Regions from separate parts of the Homo sapiens genome. Here region 2 is linked to region 1. Evidence: promoter capture Hi-C in 16 types of primary human blood cells and fetal thymus (Javierre and others, 2016). All regions are on one chromosome and are shown on one strand. The core of a region is centred on a gene start or on the middle of the fragment in contact, and the rest is flanking DNA. Distances in the headings are between cores, read along the strand shown. Region 1 holds the start of TSPAN2 (tetraspanin 2). Region 2 overlaps SYCP1 (synaptonemal complex protein 1).

Region 1 (6,113 bases), core at 1,220-3,719:
TTCAGCCTCCCAAGTAGCTGGGATTACAGGCACCCACCACCATGCCCGGCTAATTTTTGTACTTTAGTAGAGATGAGGTTTCATCATGTTGGCCAGGCTGGTCTCGAACTCCTGACCTCAGGTGATCCGCCTGCCTTGGCCTCCTAAAGTGCTGGGATTACAGGCATGAGCCACTGTGCCCGGCCTGAGAATTTGTATTTCTGACAAATTCCCAGGATATGCTGATGCTGCTGGCCCAGGAACCACTTTTGAGAACCACTGGTTAATTGAATGTACCACAGTGCTTAAGAGAAGGTAGGCGGCCAGGCGCGGTGGCTCACGCCTGTAATCTCAGCACTTTGGGAGGCTGAGGCAGGCAGATCATGAGGTCAGAAGATGGAGACCATCCTGGCTAACACGGTAAAATCCCGTCTGTACTAAAAATACAAAAAAACTAGCCAGACGTGGCGGAGGGTGCTTGTAGTCCCAGCTATTTGGGCGGCTGAGGCAGGAGAATGGCGTGCATCTGGGAGGTGGAGCTTGCAGTGAGTGGAGATCGGGCCACTGCACTCCAGCCTGGGCTACAGAGTGAGACTCCGTCTCAAAAAAAAAAAAAAAAAAAGAGAAGGTAGGCTGAGTTTGAATACCATCCCTGCCACTCACTAGCTGTGTGATCTTAGGTGACTTAACCAATTTGAGCCTGTTTCCTCATCTGTAAAAAATGGGGATAATAATAGTATATGTATATCAGGACTCTTGTGAGGATTATGTGTAATAATGAAAGTAATATGCTTAGCACTGTCCCTGACACATTGAAAACATTCAATGAATCCTTCCAGCTATCACTGGAAAGGCTGGTACAATATCAGCCACTAAATAAGCACTGAACCCAGCTTAAGAATTCCTCCTCAGGCTTAAAACTTCATAAGGCTTTGAATTCATAAGCAGTGAGAATGAAGGTTGTCACTGTGGCGTGACATCTATAATTAACAGCTTCTGAAATTAAGCCAGATTCCTAAAAAATACAACATAAAGGGTCTTCAGAAACGCCTCTCCCTATAGTATGCTTGATGTAAATCCCCACGTGTACAAAGGCCATGTGTCTCTTTAAAGTTCAGGGGATGTCGAGGAGGTACCTCCTTCACACCTTCCACTGCTGAAGGATACTGAAGAGCTTGGAGTTGCTGAAGTCACCCAGGCATCTGGGCTAATGGATTGACAGACAAAAGAGGAGCCCATCATTCAATAATTAATTAGTTGCAATCATGGGAAGACAACGTCCCCCAGAGCAGATAGGACAGCCACCTCCTCCAACCTGGTAGTTTCAAAGCACCCAGGCCCTGGCTGCTCTCAAACCTCTTTATCCAATGTTTCCCCTCAGGGTCTAGCTGAGCAGTTACACTGGCTGACATTCTCTTAAGAAAGCCCAAGAGGAAATGTGCAGAAAAGACAATTTTCAGACCTTGTCTCACAGTCCTGCAGGCCCTGGGACAGGGTATCCAGGGATGTAGGTCTGGTCTAGCTGTATCCCTGTCTCGATAATATAGGAGACAAGGGTCAAGATCCTATCTCTCTGTGAACCATGAATCCTGGGAACGCTGTCAGTTCAATCAAACCCTGCAAAGTTGAATGAGATCATCTCTGGGAGAATTAGTATTTAGCAGAGGCTGCGGCTGGGGGTTGTGGAGAGCTGCTGCTGCCCTTTAGAAGCCCTTCCATTCCCCATCCCCTTCTCAGAAGAGAACCCACCACCTCCTCTCACCCAGGGGTACTCTTACCCTGATGCCCAGAAAAAGGACGACGCCCCCCCACCACAATTTTCACTCCTATCTCCAATTTCCTAAACAAAACCATCACAGCCAGGTACAGTGTCCACACACTCGAATGGAGCACCACCCCAGGCAGCCCCAGGGCAGGGGTTTCTCTCCCATCACCCTGGCCAGGCCCTGGTTCCAGCTGGTAGGCAGAGTGAAAAGGGGGTGTGTGCACGGGAGACTGGAGGGGAACAGGGACCCAAGTCCTCCGGAGGTGAGGAGAGGCTGGGTCCCCGCACCTGGGGTCACTAGCTGGGAGATAAAAACCAAGGCAGGTGGGGGTTCCTTCCAGGAAAGAGCCACACGGTGTCTCTCCCCTTCTCACCATTTCTCATTGATCAACCTTCTGTCTTCCCGTTCTCTCCCTTCCATCCCTCCCCTCCCTCTTTGTTTGCCTTCTCCTCGCCTCCGCGTTTGAGCACCCAGCCCTCCCCACGAGCGCGACTCGGACGCCGCAGTCAGCAGCTCGGGGACCCCGGCCCCGCGCCCGCCACCCGGCCCCCTGCCCTGACCGGCCCTCCCGGCTCCTGGTCTCACCCAGAAGAGCAGGTTGAAGCCAAGCAGCAGGTACTTGATGCACCGCAGGCCCCCGCGGAAGCGCCCCATGCTGCGGCCCGGCGGCGGGATCCCCAGTCCCCAGGCCCGCGCTACGAGCGCGGGGAGCGGCAGGCTCCGGCGGGGAGGGGGCGGAGCGGGGAGGACCGGGGCGGGGCCTCCGGGGGGCGGGGCGGGGCCCGGCGGGGAGGGGCGCGTGGACCCCAAGCGGCGTGGCTGGCGACGGGTGGGGGCGCCAGCGGGTGGAGATCGAGCAGCCCGAGGGAGCACGTTCGCTCTTCTCCCGGACCCAGGGACCACCTTCCTTCCCTCCAGTGGGCGCACCGCCGCCGGCTATCGGAGCACCTGCAGGGCGGGAGCGCCCACCGGGGACTGGGGACCCATTTAATCAGCGCCCTGTGCGGAGACCGGTTTGAGGCCCGGGCGATGCTTGAGGGATAAGCACTTGGTCTCGTGGCTATGGAAATCTAGGAAGGTGACCTCGGGTAGAAGAGCTAAGTGGGGTCGGAGGTTGCCCCGAAGCTGGCAGGACCAGTCGCGGGGCACCTGACTGAGTGTCCAGGGCTGCGGCTCCGCGGCGCGGAGCAAGCACACAAGCAGCTTCTAGGGGACCCTCCCTCCGGCCCCTCCCCCCTCCTCGGGGGACTCTTACCTTAATAGGCAAGAACTGAGAGAGGGTGCGGGAGGCGGCGCCCTGAGTCCTGTGGGCTGCCCTCAACCCAGCCGGCCAGTGGAGGGAGTCTGACTTCTCATGTCCTGCCGGGTTCCACTGATCGGAGGGCTTGGAAGGATCCCAAATTTTCGGGATCTTAATTATGATGTGGAGATGGGAGAAAGGGGAAGGGGGCGGTTTTTGTTTTGCTTTGTTTTTATTAAGTTAGGCTGTTGGCAGGAAAATCAGACTCCCACTTCCATTGACTAAGTGTCTACAATATGTGGTGTCAGACAGTATGGGGGAGACAAGAAAGCAAAATTCGGAGAGCTTATGCATAAATTCAGCAAAACTTTGAGTGCCTATTATAGGCCAGACATAGTAGCAAGCCCCAGGGACTCAACAATGAGGAGACAGCCAGGCCCAGAACCACAGTCTCTGGTGTTGGAGACAGATCTGTAAGCAAATAGGGTGAGGAGAGAAGGGCTGGGTGCTAGACAGGTGTGCCTGGCCTGACTGCCTTAACCAGAAAAGGCATTGCTAAGGAGAGGGGCCTGATCTGGTCTAGAAGACGGAGCCCAGGCGGAAAAGATCAGTCCAGGAAGACAGCATGCGCAAAAGCACAGAGCTGGAGAGAACAAGGCCTCCAAGGGAGTTCTGAGAACCGCAGTTAGCCCGAGTGAAGCCTGGTGGGGGCAGAGTGAGTCAGGAAGGCAGGAGCCAAATCACAGCTTTCAGTCGGCTGACCAATGTGCCAAACTGTCATTGGCCCCGAGTGTCCCCACGTGCAACATGGAGGTAATAGTACTCCCCTCATAGAGTTGTGAAGATAAATGAGTTAGTATTTGTGAAGTGCCTAGAACAGTGCCTGGCACAGATTAAGTACTGCATAAGGGTTAGTATTATTGTATCACACTCTTATCAGTCAACCATTCAGTTTCTACCATGTTGCCATCTTTGCCTACCTCTGTGTCTTTGGACATTTGTTTGAATATCGACTCATTTATAAAAACGAGTCAAAGACAGAAAAATGAAAGTGCTGATTCTAGTAATAAACATGTCTCCAACAATGAAATAAAGACAAAGATGGAAGTCATTAGGTATGCAGAGAGAAGTGAATCATTAGCTTCAATCAAACACTTATAGTTCTATATCTGTCACCTCTGTTTTAGTATAAAGGAAAAGAACTAAGTTAAAGAGTAGTGTCTGGTACATAGAAGGCGTTCAGTAAATCAACTGAATGAACAATGATATTATACTTTAAATATATCGTTGAATTTTACATCTCTAAGACAAAATATGTCTAGAGATTATATAGAGGGAAGAGAACCCCTATTGTAACATATACATCTATTGTTTGTTTTTTTCATGCTACGATTTTAGCACACATGTATTAGAGACAGATGGTGGTTGCCTGTCCAACATAACAGTTTCAGATCTTTAGTATAGACTTGCCCAGTCGCCCTTTCACAAAGTTGTATGTCTTAAGGGAAGCTGACCCTTGAGAGGAATAGGCGAAGGTAATCCCATTTCCCTTGTAGTTAGTTCAGGAAACAAATTGACAAGCATCCTGACTAATGGGATGGGAGTGGTGTCTACTGAGGGGCCAGATGGTCTTCTTCCTCTTGAAGCTGTTGGATCTGGATGGTATACATAGAGTTGCTATATCCATCTTCATACCAGCCTGAGGAGAGATCCAACATTGAAAACAGCAAAGCAGGAAGTTGAAAAAACCAGAGTCATAGGTGATATTACGCCATAACTGAGTTAGCCATTTCTGAAGCCAATTGAGGTTTAGGTTTTTGTGTACATGTATGTGTATGTGTGTGGACGCATGTGTGTTAGTCCATTCTTGTGTTGCTACAAAGTAGTACCTGAGACTGGGTAATCTCTAAAGAAAAGAGATTTAATTGGCTCACAGTTATGCAGGCTGTACAGGAAGCATAGTGCTGACATCTGCTTCTGGTGAGGCCTCAGGAAGCTTTCAGTTGTGGTGGAAGGTCACAGGGAGCCAGTGTGTACACAGCGAGAGTGGGAGCAAAAGAAGTGGGGAGTTCCACACTCTTTTAAACAACCAGATATCACATGTGAACTCAGAGCAAGAACTCACTCATTATAGGGAGGATGGCATCCAGCCATTCATGAAGGATCCACTCCGATCCAATACCTCACACAAGGTCCCACTTCCAACATGAGGAATTGCCATCATCAACATATATGTATGTATTGTGCCTGAAAGGCATTCCATACATTTTCAAGGGTATATTACTATAAGAAAGTACAGGGCTACATTAAATGACATAATAAGGAAGTTAGCCTTTAAACTGTCACTGGCATTGCTCCCTTTTCTCTTTTTCCTGTCTTGAACTCAGACATGATGCTTGAAGTGCTAGAACATTTTGTGACTATGAAGAAAGGGCAAGACAATTGCAGACCTTCCAGCTAGGACATTGTGGAACTGCTGAACCAATACCAGCAGCTACCTAACTCCACATTTCTTATTATATAGGAAAAATAACCCTCTTTTTGTTTGACTTTGTGTTGTTACATGTAGCTAAAGATATTCCTGACTGGTAGAGGGAAGACAATACATTCATTTTTGGATCTGCTGAGTTTTAGATATGGTGGGAAATCCAGATGATGTGGAAATATGATTGGATTCTGGAGAAAGGTTTGGATGGTAAGTTTAGGGTAAAGATTCTTCAGCAAATGGTGATAAATAGAAGCCAGTGGTCTTAAAACTGTTGCCCACACATGCCCTAAAATAGTTACAAAAATATTTTCTCTTGCATTTTTTCCCAATATTTTATTATGAATATTTTCAAACGTACAAAAAATTTGAAATAGTTGGGCAAGGAGCACCATATACTCACCATCTAGATGCTACAATAAACATTTTGCTTTGGTTGCATTACTTATCTATACATCTGTCCATTTCTCAATCTATTTTTTTTTATTTATTTCCAAATAAATTGTAGGCAGTATGTTTCACTCCTAAACTCTTGAGCATGCATAACATTACCTAGAGTTCAAATATCTATTTACTATTTTTCTAAAATTTACCCCAATGAAATGTACACATTTTAAGTATATTATTTAATAATTCTTGACAA
Region 2 (6,113 bases), core at 1,185-3,684, 100 kb before region 1:
CCTTGAACTCCTGGCTCAAGCAATTCTCCTGCTTCAGCCTCCTGAGTAGCTGAGGCTATAGGGATGGGCCACCATACCTGGCTATGTTTTTTTAATTAAAAAAAATTTTAGAGTTGGGGTCTTGCTATGTTGCTCAGTCTAGTTTTGAACTGGCCTCAAGCAATCCTCCTGCCTTGGTCTTCCAAAGTGCTGGGATTACAGGCATAAGCCACTGTACTTGGCTTTTGACCTTACTTTTTAAAGATACTTTTACAAATTATAAAAATTACAAGATAGTATAGAATGTGAAACATTGACTAATGTGAATTACTTTACCAATATAAAAATAAGCAAGCATATTTTCTCACAATGTAATAAGGTGTTTTGTAGAGAGAGCAAAGCTCACTCAGTTATTTTTTTCGATCATGATTAGAAATATTAAGGCCCCTAAGATTGTTGATTGCTGAATCTGGAGTGTGTCTGTCTCTCTGTTTCACTCTTTCTCTTTCTTATTTTCTTCAGCAAGTTAAAGGAAAGGCAGAGAAAGTCTACCATTGTAAATTTTTGAAGAAAGACAACTTATAGTATCAAAAACATTTGAATTAAATTCTTATCCAAAATTTTTGCCTCATATACTTGCCAATAATAATGGAGGTTTCTGATTGCTAAGGACTCAAATTGCCTTAAAATTATTTGTGAAACCCTTTATTAATAATGCATATTTTATTTGATATGATAATGTATGGTTTTTTATTTTTGGATAGGCATATACAGTGAAGACACCAACAAAACCAAAACTACAGCAAAGAGAAAACTTGAATATACCCATTGAAGAAAGTAAAAAAAAGAGAAAAATGGCCTTTGAATTTGATATTAATTCAGATAGTTCAGAAACTACTGATCTTTTGGTAAAAATTTTACAAATAATATTTAGTATTTATTTATATTACTTATTTGTATACTATTTTCCTTGATATACATGTATAATATATTTACATAGTACCTACCATTGCAATACTGATATACAGTGGAGCTCTGCTAAAATGCAGATCCTTGTGCTTTTGCAGCATTTCAGAAAAATTAGGGTTCAAATAATTTCCCTGTAAATTTCAGAAAACCTGGCACTTTGAAAATACTTGATATAGCACAATGGGCATACGATATGATTAATCATTGTCTTGTTTTCTAGAAGAATGTCATAAAGGAGTTCTTACTATATTTTTAAAAAGAGAGATGGAGTGAATATTTTACTGTGCCAAATCTGTTATTTAGGCGTCCCCTCTATTTTGCATATTATACATGCTCCTTTTACATCACTGGTTGATATTTATATCAAGGTATTGGTTGACAACTATAACATTTCCATCACTCTAAAGAAGTTAATGTATTAAGGACAGCATGTTTAAGCAGGCTATTTCCTCTAGCACTTTGTATCACTAATTACTCCCATTCACATATACCACTGTTTTCTGAAGGCATAATAATGGTTTATTGAGAATAATGAAGCTTAGATTCATTTAATTTTTTTAAAAAGGTGAACCATACCAGAGTAAATGGAGCAATGCACCAAAAATTCTTAATGACAAAATCCCAGTTAAATTCATTTGTTTTATTATTCCCACTTATAACTAGAAGATCCTTCAAGCTTTTCTACTACTTTGGGACCTTCTATTTTCATTTTTTTCTGGAATAATGAGTAGTTGAAGTCTTAAAACCCTAAATATTGAAGTTAACATATAGAGTCCCTACTTCAGAACCCCTTTGTTTTATAGATAATTATCAACATCTTAACAATTAAAACTGTGAACCAGGTACTATTGTAAACACTTTATACAACGAAGATTACTTTAATTATTTCTTATAACAATTCCAGCCTTTAGAAATACAGTTGGCCTTCTGTATTCACAGGTTCTACATCTGTGTATTCAACCAACTACAGGCCAAAAAATTTGAAAAAAAAAAAAATAAATAACAATTCAGTAGAAAATAATATAAATAAGAAAGCAATACAACATAACTATTTATATAGTGTTTACATTGTATTGGGTATTATAAGTAACCTAGAGATGATTAAAGTATACAGGAGGAAGTACATAGGTTACATGCAAATATTATATCATTTTACATAAACATCCACAGATTTTGGCATGCATGGAGGGATCCTGGATCCAATCCCCCATGGATACTAAGAGATCACAGTATATACTGTTCTTTCCAGTTTACAGATGAGGAAACTGAGTCACACAAGTATATTTTTCAAGATCACATAGTTAGTAAGACATGGAACCAAAATTTGAACACAGTCTGGCTTCATAGACTATGTAAGTCATTGCACATGATAACTGCCAATTCAAAATGTAGTCCAGATATATAAAAATGTAATGAGAATTAGAAAGAAAATGAGCTTTAGAATTAAACATTCTAGGATTGTAATCCCTGTTATTATTCTAGCAGTTTGAGTTTAGGCCAATTTCTTAGCTGATCTGAGATTCAGAATGATTCAACATGATTCATTTCATTTCTAAAAGGAGCATCACAAACTTGCAACACAATAAACATATTACAGTATTATAGAATTGCACACAATTGTTCAAACTAGTCTAAAAACACATTTCACAATCAGTTTCCTGGTTATAATTATTATATGAACCTATTAGTCATTTTGTAATTTTCTTAGCTTATGTAGTTAAATTTTGAACATTCAAATTATAAAAATTAAGATTTAAAAATGGGTTGTTGAGCATGACCTCAGGAAGATGGTGGAGTAGGAAGTGCCAGGAATCCATCTCTCTACCTAGACAAAAAGTATACTGGCAGAAACTGTCTGAAGTAACTATTTTATAAGTATGCAGTCTTATTTGAATGTTTATAGCTTCCAGGGGAAAGGTTAGCTGGTAAATTGCAGTTAATTTAGGTTGATTTCAGCCTAAAATATGATAGCAGCTACCAGTCTCCCCAGCCTACAGTCCTGTGTCAGGAAGCCATGCTCATGTTCCCTGAGTGACTTGCTGGTGCCAGAGGGGGCAATAGGACTTGTCCTTCAAACATCAGAGTTCAGTGTTTCAACCCCCACTGGCTGAAGCAACTTCCAGGAATTTACATGAAGCACATCTATCTTTTTTTTTTTTTCCTTTTCTCTTTTTCCATCTTTACCCTTTGGGAAGCCAGGCATTTAAGGATTAGGATATTCAAAAGCAAAGCAAAAAGGAATTTAGCTATAGCACATGTTTAAGCAAAGAGGCTTAAAAAAGACGGGAGAAGACCATAAGCTTTTATCTCAGGCTGATCCCTGGCACAGACTTTCAACAGTAAAACAAAAGAAAACAGAACACAAACAAAAACAGAAAATCCCGGGGAAGAGGGAAAATCTTATTTCCAGAGTTACCAAAGTATAATATTCAAATGTCCAGTTTTCAACAACAAGGGCCAGGCACAATAGCTCACGCCTGTAATTTCACCACTTTGGGAGGCCAAGGTAGGAAGGTTTCTTGAGGCCAAGAGTTTGAGACTAAGTTGGGCAACAGTGAGACCCTCTCTATACAAAAATTTAAAAAATTAGCCAGGTGTGGTGGCACATGGCCTGTAGTCTAACTACTCAGGAGGCTGAGGTAGAAGGATCACTTGAGCCCAGGAGTTCAAAGTTATAGTCAGCTATGATTATGTCACTACACTCCAGCCTAGGTGACAGAGTGAGACCTTGTCTCTAAAAATTTTTTTAAACCAAAAGACCAATAGTAACAAATCATAAGGCATACAAATAAATAGGAAAATATGATCCATTCAAAGGAACAAAACAAACCAACAGAAATTATCCTTGAGGAAGCTCAGACATTGGAATTACTAGACAAAGACTTCAAAACAGCTGTCTTAAAGTAGCTCAAATTGCTAAAGGAAGACATGGACAAAGAAAAAAAAACCCTAATTTTGTGTGAATAAAATGAGAATATTGATAGAGAGTTAGAAATTATAAAAAGAACCAGAAAAAAACTCTGGAACTGAAAGTACAATAACCGAAATGAGAAACCCACTAGAGGGATTTAAAAGCAGATTTGAGTAAGCAGAAAAAAGAATTGGTGAACGTAAAGATAGACAATTGAAGTTACTGAGTCTGATAAACGGCAAAAAAAAAAAAAAAAGAAAAAGAAAAGAAAAGAAAAGTGAACAGAGCCTCAGAGTCTTGTAGCACACCATCAGCTGGGCCAATATATACATTGTAGGAATTCCAGAAGGAGAAGAGGGAGAGAGGAAGAGGTGGGGGGGTAGACAGAGAGAGAAAAAGAGAGAGAGAGGTGGAAAGAGTTATATGAAGAAATAAATGCTAAAAACTTCCCAAATTTTGATGAAAGACATGAATATACAAATTCACGAAGCTCAACAAACTCCAAAAAGCCCCCATCAAGACATTTTATAATCAAACTGTTGGGAGAAAAAATGAATCTTGAAAGCAGCAAGAGAGATGCAACTCATTACATGCAAGTTATTCTCAACAAAATTATCAGCTGATTTTTCATCAGAAATGTTAGATGCCAGAAGACAGTGAATTTATATATTCAAAGTGCTGAAAGACCAAAATTATCAACTGAGAATTTTATATCCAGCAAAACTGTCATTCAAAATGAAGAAGAAATTGAGATATTTCCAGATAAACAAAAGCCATAAAGAGTCTGTTACCACTAAACCTGCTCTTCAAAAAGTACTAAAGGGACATCTTCAGATGGAAAGGCTGCTAGACAGTGAAGCTGTATGAATAAATAAATATCTCTGGTAAACGTAAATACATGGGCAATTTATAAAAGCTAGTAGTATTGTTATTCTGGTTTGTAACTTCAGTTTTTATTTTCTATATGATTTTAAAGACAAATGCATATAAATGGTTAATTTATGTTACTAGGCGCACAATGTATAAAGATGTAGTTTGTGACATCAATAACAGAAAATGGGCTGGGCACAGTGGCTCACACCTGTAAACCCAGCATTTTGGGAGGCTGAGGCAGGTGGAAGTTTGAGACCAGCCTGGGTAACACAATGAGATCCTGTCTCTACAAAAAATATGGAAATTAGTCAGGCATTGTGGTGCACATCTGTAGACCCAGGTACTTAGGAGGCTGAGGTGTAAGGATCATTTGAGCCTGGGAGGTCAGGGATGCAGTGAGCCATAATCACACCACTGACCTCCAGCCTGGGTGACAGAATTAGATCCTGTCAAAACAAAACAAAACAAAAAACCAAAAAAAACCCCAAAAACAAAACAGGGAAGATGGAGCTGTGTAGGGGCAGAGTTTTTATAGGCTATTGAAGTTCAGTTGGTATAAATTTGAATTAGATTGTTATAGCATTAGGAAGTTAAATGTAATCTCCATGGTAACTACAATGAAATTATATAATATACACAAAAAGAAATGAGAATGGAATCAGAATGTTCAAGTACAAAAGTCACCTAAATGGAAAATAAGACAGTAATGGAGGAGACAAAACCCTATAATAATGGAGACAAAACCCTATAAGACATATTGAAAACAAATAGCAAAATTCAGAGCTATGTCCTTCCTTATAGATCATTACTTTAAATGTAAATAGATTATACTCTCCTATCAAAAGATATAGATTGGCAGAATATATTTTAAAAACATGAAAACTATATGCTGTTTTCAAGACACTCATTTTAGATCCAAAGCCACAAATTGATAAAACGTGAAAGAATGGAAAAAGATATTCTGTGCATATAGTAACCAAAAAATAGCTGAAGTGTCTATACTACTATCAGACACAATAGACTTTAAATTAAAAAGTGCAAGAAACACAAAGGACATTAATAATAAAAAGTTTAATATAGCAAGAAGATATGACAATTTTAAACATGTCCACGCCTAATAACAGACCTTCTAAATATATGAAGCAAAACTTCATAGAATTGAAGGGAGAAACAGACAGTTCTAAAATAATTGTTGGACACTTCAGTAACCCACTTTCAATAATGAATAGAACAACCAGACAGAAGATAAGGAGATAGAGGACTTGAACAACACAATAAGCTAATTAGGTCTAACAGACATGTATAACATTCTACCCAACAACAACAGCATACATATTCTTTCAGGTGCCCATGAGACATTCCCCAGGATAGATCATATGTT

The links. The method cuts DNA at HindIII sites, captures the fragments that hold promoters and counts their contacts. A CHiCAGO score of 5 or more calls a contact.
Region 2: a contact is called between a fragment that was not itself captured here and the fragment with the promoter of TSPAN2 in region 1, in 2 of 17 cell types (naive CD4 T cells and total B cells). The highest score is 6.7, in naive CD4 T cells.

Annotation. Positions count from the first base shown.
Region 1 is chr1:115,087,034-115,093,146 of GRCh38, forward strand. It overlaps TSPAN2 (tetraspanin 2), which reads right to left and starts at 2,470. Exons shown (of 8, transcript NM_005725.6): 1 at 2,331-2,470. The coding sequence starts at 2,399. The HindIII fragment of the contact is 10,227 bases long and covers 1-4,979 here.
Region 2 is chr1:114,983,982-114,990,094 of GRCh38, forward strand. It overlaps SYCP1 (synaptonemal complex protein 1), which reads left to right. Exons shown (of 32, transcript NM_003176.4): 30 at 744-887. Among named protein-coding and RNA genes, the nearest start is that of TSHB, 43 kb to the right of the region's middle. The HindIII fragment of the contact is 1,624 bases long and covers 1,623-3,246 here.